3 separate regions of the Homo sapiens genome follow, and regions 1 and 2 are each linked to region 3. Evidence: promoter capture Hi-C in 16 types of primary human blood cells and fetal thymus (Javierre and others, 2016). All regions are on one chromosome and are shown on one strand. The core of a region is centred on a gene start or on the middle of the fragment in contact, and the rest is flanking DNA. Distances in the headings are between cores, read along the strand shown. Region 1 has its middle 31 kb from the start of RBAKDN. Region 2 has its middle 14 kb from the start of RBAKDN. Region 3 holds the start of PAPOLB (poly(A) polymerase beta).

Region 1 (3,725 bases), core at 655-3,154, 240 kb after region 3:
AAGGATTTTTTTTTTTTTTTTTTGAGACAGAATCTCACTCTGTCACCTAGTCTGGAGTGCAGTAGTGCGATCTTGGCTCACTGCAACCTCCGCCTCCCAGGTTCAAGCAGTACTTCTGCCTCAGCCTCCCAAGTAGCTGGGATTACAGGTGTGTGCCACCACGCCCAGCTAATTTTTGTATTTTTAGTAGAGACAGGGTTTCACCATGTTGGCCAGGCTAGTCTCGAACTCCAGACCTCGTGATCTGCCTGCCTCGGCCTCCCAAAGTGCTGGGATTACAGGCATGAGCCACCGCGCCCGGCCGTGAAGGATCTTTATAATGTGCTGCTGGATTTGGTTTGCTAGTATTTTGTTAAGGATCTTTGCATCTGTGTTCATCAGGGATATTGGCCTGTAGTTTTCTTTTTGTGTTGTGTTCTTGTCTGGTTTTCGTCTTAGAGTAATATTGGCCTTGTAGAATGATATTGGAAGAATTCCTTCCCTTCGATTTTCTGGAAAAGTTTGAGAAAAATTGGCATTGGTACTTTAAATGTTTGGTAGAATTCAGCAGTGAATCTGTGGTTCTTCTTTGATGAGATTTTTTTTTTGAGATGGAGTTTTGCTCTTTTTGCCCAGGCTGGAGTGCATTGGCACGATCTTGGCTCACTGCAACCTCCACCTCCCAGGTTCAAGTGATTCTCCTGCCTCAGCCTCCCGAGTAGCTCGGATTACAGGCACGTGCCACCACGCCTAGCTAATACTGTATTTTTAGTAAAGACAGGGTTTTACCACATTGGTGAGGCTGGTCTCAAGCTACTGACCTCAGGTGATCTGCCCACTTCGGCCTCCTAAAGTGCTGGGATTACAGGTGTCAGCCACCAGACCCGGCTGAATTTTTTTTTTTTTTTTTTTTTTTTTTTAGACAGAGTCTCCCACTGTCGCCCGGACTGGAGTGCAGGGGCGCGATCTCGGCTCACTGCAACCTCCACCTCCTGGATTCAAGCGATTCTCCTCCCTCAGGCTCCCGAGTAGGTGGGATTACAGGCACTTACTACCATGCCCAGCTAATTGTTTGTATTTTTAGTAGAGAGAGGGTTTTACCACATTGGCCAGGCTGGTCTCGAACTCCTAACCTTGTGATTCACCTACCTCAGCCTCCCAAAGTGCTGGGATTATGGGTGTGAGCCACTGCACCTAGCCCAACTTTTTTTTTTTTAGACGAAGTCTTGCTGTGTCACCCAGGCTGGAGTATAGTGGTGTGATCCTGCCTCACTGCAGTTGCGAACTCCTGGGCTCAAGTGATCCTTCTGCTTCAGCATCCTAAGTAGCTGAGACCACAGGTGCACACCATCATGTCTGGTTAATTGTTTAATTTTTTTCCCCGCAGGAACAGGGTCTTGCTTTGTTGCCTAGGCTGGTCTCAAAACCCTGGCCTCAAGGTTTACTACATGCATACAATGTGTATTGATCAAATCAGGGTAATTAGGATATCCATCACCTCAACTATTTGTCATTTCTTTGTGTTGGAAACATTTTAAATATTTTCTTCTAGCGATTTTGAAATATACAATAAATTATTGCTAACTATAGTCACCCAACTGTGCTATGAAACACAAGAACTTATTCCTTCTATCTAACTGTATTTGTGTACTTATTAACCAATTTCTCATCACTCCCTCCTTCATTCTGTTTCCCACTGGAGTGCAGTAGTATGATCATGGCTCACTGTAGCCTCTCTTTCTCCTCTAACTAAATGATTTCAAATGACTTATCTTCATCTTCATGTTCATTGATTTTTTGTTTTGTTTTGTTTTGAGACAGGATCTCACTTTGTCACCCAGGGTAGAGTGCAGTGGTGTAATCATGGGTCACTGCAGCCTTGACTTCCTGGGTTCACGTGATCTTCCCACCTCAGCCTCCTGGGTAGCTGGGACTACAGGTGTACACCACCATACCCTGATAATTTAAAAAAAAATTTTTTTTTTAAATAGGGTTTTGCCGTGTTGCTTATGCTGGTCTTGAACTCCTAGCCTCAAGCAATCTGCCTGCTTCAGCTTCCCAAAGTTCTAAGATTACAAGCATAAGCCACTGCTGTTGAAGCTCTAAATGGCATTTTTTCATTTTAGTCCTTGTTCACCTCAGCTCTAGAATTTCTTTTTTTGTGATTTCTGTATCTCTGTTGAACTTTACATTTTGTTCATATATTGTTTATCTGATTTTGACGAGTTGTATCTGTGTTCTCTTGTAACATGCTGAGCTTCTTTAAAACAGTTATTTTGAATTCTTTTTCAGTTAATTCATAGATCTCCTTTTCTTTGGGGTTGGTCATTTGAAATGTGTTGTGTTCCTTTGGTGATGTCATGTTTCTTTTCTATGCAGTTATTCTTGGCTTTTCTGCTCTACTCGGTGGCTGCATCTTTTTAACTGGACTCTGGGAGTTCTCCCAGAGCTATTTTAGTCTGTGGATAGTTGTTAAATCATTGTTTTTGTGGGAGTACAAGGGCTAGGACCTCCTAGTCCACCATCTTGATCACATTACACCAAGAATCAGTCCACTCTGAGATCATCCGTCTTCTGGCCACCCTTTGGTTTACATTTTAAGAAAATGTGGACAGAGCTGTAACTTTCCTCTCCTCTCTCCAGAGAGCTGCCTACCTCTCTGGAGATAGGTATTTTGGCTATTCATTTCCTAGGTTCAAGTTTATCCCAAGACTTGTACAGTCTCTTCATCACTGCAGGGAGGTGGCCTCTTATCCCCTTAGCCCAGAAGTTTCAGATTCCCCCAGGATTCGGCAGTTTTGAATTCCCAACTCTTCCACTCCCTCTCATCCCTCCAGCCCTCATCCTTCAGAGACCATCCTGTCACTTAGGCACCACAGTGTTGGGGGAGAAGATCAGTAATGAGGCCCTGGGGCTTTGGATCAAGCCAGACCCTTAAGTGGGCCCTGGGAAACCTATTAAGTAACTATTTTCTTATTAAGAGTATAAGTATTCCCTTCTTACTGGGAATAGAAGTTGAAAGATTGACAGAGATAAGGGAGAAAGGTGTGGTAGAGTCCGTCTCCTCCCATTTCCTACAAAATCCTTCTACAGTTGACTCCGCTCTTACTTTTGTTTACAGAGGAGCTGACGTTTCATCTGGGCCTGAAGAATGAGTAAATTTCCAGGTGGGAAAAGGTCATTGTGATATTGGAGAGGTATGTATAAGAATGGGGAAAATGGTCCAGTATGGTGGCTCATGCCTGTAATCCCAGCACTTTGGGAGGCCAAGTTAGGTGGATCACCTGCGGTCAGGAGTTCAAAACCAGCCTGACCAACATGGTGAAACCCCATGTTTCTAAACTAAAAATACAAAATTACCCAGGCGTAGTGGCACGTGCCTGTAATCACAGATACTTGGGAGTCTGAGGCAAGAGAATCACTTGAACCTGGGAGGCGGAGGTTGCAGTGAGCCGAGAGCGTGCCATTGCACTCCAGCCTGGGCAACAAGAGTGAAACTCCATCTCAAACCACCCCCTCCCCCCGCCAAAAAAAAAAATAGTTCTGGGAGAAATGAGTGAGTGGGGCACATTCAGGTTGTTGTATAGCTCGTAAGGAATGAGGTAGAAGATGGTAGAGGTTGAGACCACAAAGCTATGCTGGGTCCATATTGTGACTGTTGGAACCTGGGCTTCTTCCATTCAGAATCCAAGTCATCTTCTCCTCAACTTAAAGTTGATCTCTTCCTCTCTTAGGAGTCATTGTTA
Region 2 (3,906 bases), core at 1,286-3,785, 220 kb after region 3:
CACGCACTCCACACCAAGCTAATTTCTTAATTTTATTTTGTAGAGACGGGGTCTTGCTATATTGCTCAGGCTGGTCTAGATCTCCCAGGCTCAAGTGATCCTCCTGCCTTGGCTGGGATTACAGGCATGAGTCACTGCATCCAGCCCCCATCCCCCTTTTTTGGCTTAACCCCACCAAGATAAAGGGAACATGAATACAGTTAAAGGTAGAAAAGAGACGTCCACACAGTGTTAGGAGAAACATTACTAATGGCAACCCCTGGTAGAGCAAAGCTGAAGCCCAGGCTGGGTGCAGTGGCTCACGCCTATAATCCCAGCACTTTGGGAGGTTGAGGCAGGTGGATCACGAGGTCAGGAGTTCAAGACCAGCCTGGCCAAGATGGTGAAACCCCATCTCTACTAAAAATACACAAATTAGCTGGGTGTGGTGGCAGGGGCCTGTAATCCTAGCTACTTAGGAGGCTGAGGCAGGAGAATCGCTTAAACTCAGGAGGTGTAGGTTGCAGTGCGCAGAGATCGCACAACTGCACTCCAGCCTGGGCAACAGAGCAAACCTGTCTCAAAAAAAAACCCTGAAGCCTAAGTTCTTCAGAGGCAAACACTCCTCGGGAGGGGAGTCAAAGAGGAAAAGGCTCTGGGATTGGCGGAAGCATATGCGCCAGAGGGTGGAGATGTGCAGTGGGCTGCGAACAGGAGGCCTGTTCAAAGTCAGAGTGAAGGCTGGGCACAGTGGCTCATGCCTGTAACCCCAGCACTTTGGGAAGCCAAAGCAGGAGACTCTCTTGAGGCCAGGAGTTCGAGACCAGCCTGGGCAACATAGTGAGACCCGCATCTCTACAAAAAATAAAAATAGAAAAATTAGCCAGATGTGGTGGTGCACACCTGTAGTTCCAGCTACTTGGGAGGCGGGGGTGGGAGGATTGCTTGAGCCCAGGAGCTGGAAGCTGCAGTGAGCTGTGATTGCACTACTGCACTCCAGCCTGGGAAACAGAGCCAGACCCTATGTCCCTTTTTTTTTTTTTTTTTTTTTTTTTTTGAGACAGAGTCTTGCTCTGTTACCAGGCTGGAATGCAATGGCATGACCTCAGCTCACTGCAACCTCCGCCTCCCGGGTTCAAGCAATTCTCCTGCCTCAGCATCCTGAGTAGCTGGGACTACAGGCGCCCGCCACCATGCCCGGCTAATTTTTGTATTTTTAGTAGAGATGGAGTTTCACCATGTTGGCCAAGATGGTCTCCATCTCCTGACTTCGTGATCTGACTGCCTGGGGCTCCCAAAGTGCTAGGATGACAGGGGTGAGCTAACCCGACGTCTTTAAAAAAAAAAAAAAAAGTGTAAATGAAGAGTGGTAAGACATGAGACCCCCTCTACACTGGGCTGGGTGGTCGCTCGCCCCAGTCTGCAGAGGGAAAGAAAAGGTCTGAACTTGGAGGTGTGAAAATGGAACCTCTCTAGAAAGCTGCACCCTGGCCAGCGACACCACAGCTGTGTCTCCTGGAGCTGGGAGCATCCCCACTCACACCTCAGGGAGGGAGTGGAGTATTCCCAGGTGCAGATATGGCCCGGTGCAGATACGAACCCAACCAAGTTAAAGCCCTCTTGAGGGTCCTGCCGCTGTCCCCATGACAAGTGCGAGGCAGCCCTGCCCCCTGGTGGCAGCACTCAGAACTGCATCAGCAGGTGGGCTGCCCTAGGACCGGGGGACATCGCAGGCAACATAAATGCCCTTGTGGGTTACAATCTAATAAGGAAGATGTTCAATCATCTTATTAAAATAATCGGCCGGGCGCGGTGGCTCACGCCTGTAATCCCAGCACTTTGGGCGGCCCAGGCGGGCAGATCACGAGGTCAGGAGATCGAGACCATCCTGGCTAACACGGTGAAACCCTGTCTCTACTAAAAATACAAAAATTAGCCGGGCGTGTGGCGGGCACCTGTAGTCCCAGCTACTCCGGAGGTTGAGGCAGGAGAATCGCTTGAACCCGGGAGGCAGAGCTTGCAGTGAGCCGAGATTGCGCCACTGCACTGCAGCCTGGGCGACAGAGTGAGACTCCGTCTCAAAAAAAGAAAAAAAAATTTAGCCTGGCGTGCTGGCCTATAATCCCAGCAACTTGGGAGGCAGAGGAAGGAGAATTGCTTGAACCCGGGAGGCGGAGGTTGCAGTGAGCCGAGATTGCACCACTGCACTCCAGCCTGGGCAACAGAGGCAGACTCTGTCTCAAAAAGAAAAAAAAAATTACTGCTGTGAAGGGAACAAGGGGCTGAAGTAATTACAGGGGGGCCAGGGACAAGGTGGCATTTATGAGAGGTTGGGGATGAGATTTTGAAGATGGTCTCTGGGTTCCAGGCCGAGCTCACTCTGGTGCTCCTCTGGGCGGTGGAGCGGGGCTCTTCGCTGGGCTGCTTATTCCAGGCTCTGAGCTCTGGGCGGTGGGCTCAGGCTCTCCCAGGGATGTCGGTGTCTGTGCGGTTGCCACTGCCCAGTGGCCTGGGTTCTGCTTCTCCTCTGGACTCAGGTTCTCTCTGGGGCTGACAAGATCCAGGTGGGCAGAGAATGAGGTGAAGGCTTGAAGACCAAATCATGGGAGATGCCGGGAATGGGTGGTGCTGTCCACTCTGACCGCAATTTCCCATCAATATCCAGACCTGTGCCTGCAACATCAAGACCTGTGCCTGTTCCTAAAGAGTGCGGGTACCTGAAGCCCCCCACAAGGGCTCCCCCTCTACAAGACCTGCCCCCAGGATCTTAGGGCCTGGGAAAAGCAGGAGCTAAGATGAGGGTTTTGGGGGAGAGGAGGGGACCCCTTCATTGACTCCATGGACCAGCCTCAAAACAGAGATGGAGGCAGAGATGTTCAGAGATAGTACCAGTGTCAAGGAAACTCCTGTGTCGCCCCTAGGTCAGGCTGCCCTGGAGAGAAGTCCAGAGCCCCTGGAGGGGATAGACTGAGCTAGAGAGATAAGGGGGTGGCTGGTGCTCCCCTACTTCATCAGATAGGACTGTGAAGCCTGGGAGCAGGCTGGGAGTCCGAGGATATGGGAGAACATTCACAGCTGAGAAGTAAAGGAGAGGGTGGGCGCGGCAGCTCATGCCTGTAATCCCAGCACTTTGGGAGGCCGAGGTGGGCAGATGACTTGAGCTCAGAGGTTCAAGGCCAGCCTGGGCAACATGGCGAAACCCCGTCTCTACCAAAAATTACAAAAACTAGCTGGGCATGGTGGTACGTGCCTGTAGTCCTAGCTATTTGGGAGGCTGAGGTGGGAGGATCGCTTGAGCCCAGGAAGCAGAGGTTGCAGTGAGCTGAGATCACACTACTGCATTCCAGCCTGGGTGACCGAGCGAGACCCTGTCTTAAAAAGAAGAAGTAAAAGACTGATTCATCCCCTCCTGGACACATAGCCCCTCTAGAGCTGTCTTTGACAGTCTCGGCTGCCATAACAAAGTCCCATAGACTGGCTGCCTTATCAACAATAGATATCTATTTCTCACAACTCTGGAGACTGAAGATCTGAGATCAGGGTACATGGTCAGCTTCTGGTGAGGGTCCTCTTCTGGGTTCCAGATCACAGACTTCTAGTTGTGTCTTCATGTGGTGGAAAAAGAGGGAGCTCTCTGGGGTCCCATTGATTGATCGATTGATTGATGGAGATGGAGTTTCACTCTTGTCACCCAGGCTGGAGTGCAGTGGCATGATCTCGGCTCACTGCAGCCTCCACCTCCCCGGTTCAAGCCATTCTCCTGCCTCAGCCTCCCAAGTAGCTGGGATTACAGGCATCTGCCACCATGCCCAGCTAATTTTTTGTATTTTTAGTAGAGACGGGGTTTCACCATGTTGGGCAGGCTGGTCTTGAACTTCTGACCTCATGATCCTCCAGCCTCAGCCTCCTTAAGTGCAGGCATTACAG
Region 3 (4,337 bases), core at 865-3,364:
TGTTGCTGAGTTTCCTGAAGGTCTGGATGGCTTATGAGACATGTTGAAGAAACAACTCTGGCGACCATGGCCTTTGGTGATGGAGAAATGGCAGGCTGAGAGACAGCGTGAGGAATACTTTCGTTTAATGCAACCCCTGAACTTTCATTGGTATTCACCTGTTGCAAGGAAAATTCAGTAGCCTGTATGTTAGCCACAGATGCTGTCATTACAGCCAAGGCAGGACTGTTTCTACCCTGAGAACTGCTAATCAATGGGCCTGTCTTCATAGTGCTAGTAGATGAAGGCACAGACATGCTGTTTTCACAGCCTGCAGACAAGTCAAAGCTGCTGTCGTTCAAATCTGTCAATCTTCTACCTTCTGTTGAGTGTGCTTTCTTGTCCTGAAGCACATGATGAGGCAGCAGCTGGTGAAGTTCCTTTCTTCTTAAATGCATTGCAGTAATTTTCATACCCATCTCAAACATCTTACTATTCACTGCTTGCCTATAAACAGTATCTGTGAAAGACTGGATATCATAGGTGAGATCAATGCTGAGAATTTCAGAATTATCTGGCTTTTTTAGCCCTAACCCAATCACCCACATTGTACGAAATTCTTCCATATCAGGATTTTCTTTGGGTGCTGGAAATGACTGTGGATTCACATGTGCCAGTGTAATAAATTCATTCTTCTCCAAGCTCCCAACCAGGATTCGGATCTTTGATTCCACCAAGCCCACCCATTCTAAATGTTGTTTTTCTGTTGATGCACTTGCCAGAAGTACAATATAATGCTTGTACTTTTGAAAGAAGCTTGGAGCTTCAAAGAGTTTGGACCACTCTGCCTTACTTAGCAAAATCTCGTGTGTGATAGCAAGCCCCTGTTTAAACTCCTCAATCATGACCATCCTGGTTGAAATAGACACGTTGTATGTGGAGTTCTGCTGTGGGTATGCTGGTGTGATGATAGGCATAAGATGGTACCTATCACTGGGATTTACTCTTGGGTCCCATACAGGCAAATTAAGATTCCGTTCTTCAGGCTCCTTCAGTAACACTGGGTTTGGCCATTCCCATTCTGAAAATACCAAGAAGAATTTCCGTACAAGAGTTGACGCTACTGCATTTGGATAAAGCTGACAAGTTCTTGCTACTAGCATGGCCCAGGAAACACCTCCGAGGAAACCTAATATATTGGAATAGATATTGTGGCACTTGGCCCACAGTTTGATGGCTCTCAGAGTCAGCCTGAAGTTGTCAATGTTTGGCACTAGATGTAAAATTTCATCGGTTACCCGGCAACCATTAAGGCTTCTTATGCATCTAATGTCTAAATTTTTAAGTAGACTGTCATCTCTTAAGTCCAAATCTTCTGGAATAGTCTGTAGTGCTAATCTTGCAAATAAAATATCAATCTCTATCCCATCAAAACACAGTTTGATAACTGGCACAAATGCCTCCTCGACAGCCCTTAAATCTTTCACTTCCTCCTGTAGTTTCAGTTTAGCATAGAATGAGGTGAAAAAGTCGCTTCGATCCACATGACTTGGTGCAACGCACAAGGCGTCAATATCTGCGCCTTTCGTATGTACTCCTAATCTGTAAGAGCCAAACGTAAAAATCTTTCCTCCAACGTTTTCAATTACAGACTGGGGAAGACTCTTGCTTTCACTGATTTCGCGTATCCATTCCTTTACCAGATTATTTAATTTTTCCAAAACTAAAATCCTGCGCTGCAGTTCCTCTTCCTCTTCGAAGACCCCGAAGGGCCTGAGGGTTTCTATTAGCCTCTGGGTGAGGAGGCAGTCCGTCTCCTTGGGGACCGCTAGACTGATAGGCGAGGAGACGCCGTAGCGATTCGGCGGCGGCGCCGGCTGCGGTGGTCCCTGGGTTGTCACCGGAAACGGCATCATCTTTCAGCGCCCGCCCCGCCAGGGCACGTCCCCCACCACCGCGACCTTCGCGGCCGCCGCCCGGGTCATGATCCGCTGAGGCGGAAGGGCAGGGCTTCTAGCTGCCCTGGTCCGACCCCACTCCCACTCCCGCTGCGCGCCCGCCGCTTCAGGAGCTTCTCCTCCTTCCCCTCAGCCCCAACATGGCGCCAGACCCCTCAGCGGCTGCGTTCCAGAACCTACCGTACACGCGCGGGCGCCTGCGCACCCGCCGCCAGCGCGAGGGCTCACGGGAGCCACAGCGTTCTGGGCTGGGGCTCCTACCGCTGCGCGGGGGGCTATACATGGGGGTGGGCAGGATTCACGTTGTTGATGACCGGCCAAACTCAACCCTTTATTGCCACTATTTTACATATTTGCCCAACTTTACCCATCTAATTCTTTGCTCTCCAAGTCCCTTGACATCGCAGATGTGCATCCTTTTTGGGGGCACCCTCAGCACTCTTCACCCTAGCGTGCACCCTTTGGAAGTCCAAAGACCCCTTCGTGGTGGGAACCCGCGGTGGAAAGCAGCTTCTGTCTTGTTTCTTGGGCCGTTGCTGGACATTGGTTTAGCTGGGGCAGCATTTCGAGGTCGACATTTGTGTTCTGGCCATGCTTTAAGGGCGCGATACTGCTGTCCTCTGGTTCCCGTTGAGAATTCCGCAGCTAGGTGAACTACTGCTCGTCTGTCTTTTCTTATGGCAGCTATAAAAGTGTCTGTCCCTAGTGCCCTGTGATCCCACCACTGTGTGTCCAGGCATAGATTTCTCTTTAATAATCTTACCCAGGCTGGGCGCAGTGGCTCACGCCTGTAATCCCAGCACTATGGGAGGCCGAGGCGGGCAGATCACCTGAGGTCAGGAGTTGGAGACCAGCCTCAACATGGAGAAACCCCGTCACTACTAAAAATACAAAATTAGCCGGGCGTGGTGGTGCATGCCTGTAATCCCAGCTACTCGGGAGGCTGAGGCAGGAGAATTGCTTGAACCTGAGAGGCAGAGGTTGCGGTGAGCCAAGATCACACCATTGCACTCCAGCCTGGGCAACAAGAGTGAAACTCTGTCTCAAAAAAAAAAATAAAATTAAAAATAAAAATAAAAAATAAAAAATATAATCTTACCCAGGATACACTATGATTCCCGAATCAGAAGTCATGCTTTTTATGATCTCCAGAAGCTTCTTGGGCACTTCCTGGGAATATGTTCTCCCACTTGTCTCCTGATTCTCTTCATCTAGACACGTTGTCAACCTTCTCACTCTGTCCTCCATGTCTCTTAAGCCGTGTGTCTTTCTGGGTGATGCCAGATTACCTCCAAGTCCTCTCTTCAGTTGTATTTAGTCTGCTGTTTAAGCATCATTGAAATATCCACTTAAATACTTATATTTCACTATTTTGTTCTTTTCCAAGCTTCTCTGCCTTTTAGATGGCATTCTGTTCTTTCATGTTTTTCCCCCTACCTTTTATTTCTTTAAACGTGTTAAACATACTTATTTAGTACTCTATAACTAATTATTCTAATTCCGAATGCTCTTGAGAAACTGTATAGTTTGTTGTTATCCAAGAACTCAGAGTGGTATTACCTCTTGGGTCTTGTAATTTTGGATTGTGAGCTCATTTCTGGTGAAGCTTGGAATGCCTGTGTAGACGCTGTGTCCTTCCAAAGAGGATTTGCTTTGTTTCCAGTAGATGTTCTTGTACACTATAGAATTGCAGTCAGTGTAATTTCTTATCCAGGGATTATCCACAACATCTAGATGGTGCAACTTTGAACCCCAAATACATGTAAGAGGACATGTGGTTTTCATTTTTAAGGAACAGTCTTTAGTTTTTCCCACCCAAGTCAAGAGAGAGAACTTCCTTTGCCATCTCCTTTCACCAGGTAGCAGATTCTTCTTACTCCATTTTTTCACTCAATGTGTCACCCTTTGAGGATTCCAATTGTATTTGGAGGGGTCTCAATTCTAACTCCCTACCTTTTAAGGTCCCAAGAGCTTTCTGTCTCTTCTTGGACAGCTGCTAAACTTAAGTTTCTCAGTTTCCAAGACTGGCCAATGCCTCTAGGGCGGTTCTAGTTTCAGAATCAGCTACAATCCTGAGGTTTCAAGGTATCCCTTTTTCTTCCAGCCCTAGAGACTTCCTTTATTTTCCTGGGTACTCAGCTATGCATTCAAAAAAATGATTTCTTATATTTATCCAACATTTCCAGGCACTTTACATAGAAAGATTTTCTGGGATAATTAATCCCATATATTGCCAGAAATATAAATACCTTCTTTTTAATCCATTTCAACATTGGCTTACATGCTCAAAAACAGCTATCAGCAAGGTCTTTGGTGACCTCCATGTTGCCCAACCCATGACCCCAATGATTTCCATCTTCTTTGACCTATGGTAGCTTCATCTTGGCCTCTGCGACACCA

What was found. Contacts are between HindIII fragments. The CHiCAGO score rates a contact against its expected background, and 5 or more counts as called.
Region 1: a fragment that was not itself captured here is called in contact with the fragment with the promoter of PAPOLB in region 3 in 6 of 17 cell types (M2 macrophages, endothelial precursors, erythroblasts and 3 more); the score reaches 9.9 in M2 macrophages.
Region 2: a fragment that was not itself captured here is called in contact with the fragment with the promoter of PAPOLB in region 3 in 10 of 17 cell types (M2 macrophages, erythroblasts, endothelial precursors and 7 more); the score reaches 10.8 in M2 macrophages.

Annotation. Positions count from the first base shown.
Region 1 is chr7:5,100,713-5,104,437 of GRCh38, forward strand. No RefSeq gene overlaps it. Among named protein-coding and RNA genes, the nearest start is that of RBAKDN, 31 kb to the left of the region's middle. The HindIII fragment of the contact is 4,338 bases long and covers 1-3,725 here.
Region 2 is chr7:5,083,969-5,087,874 of GRCh38, forward strand. No RefSeq gene overlaps it. Among named protein-coding and RNA genes, the nearest start is that of RBAKDN, 14 kb to the left of the region's middle. The HindIII fragment of the contact is 5,458 bases long and covers 1-3,906 here.
Region 3 is chr7:4,859,916-4,864,252 of GRCh38, forward strand. It overlaps PAPOLB (poly(A) polymerase beta), which reads right to left and starts at 2,115. Exons shown (of 1, transcript NM_020144.5): 1 at 1-2,115. The coding sequence starts at 1,895. All of the region lies in intron 2 of RADIL (Rap associating with DIL domain), which reads right to left. RefSeq lists an enhancer at 1,358-1,970. The HindIII fragment of the contact is 2,297 bases long and covers 794-3,090 here.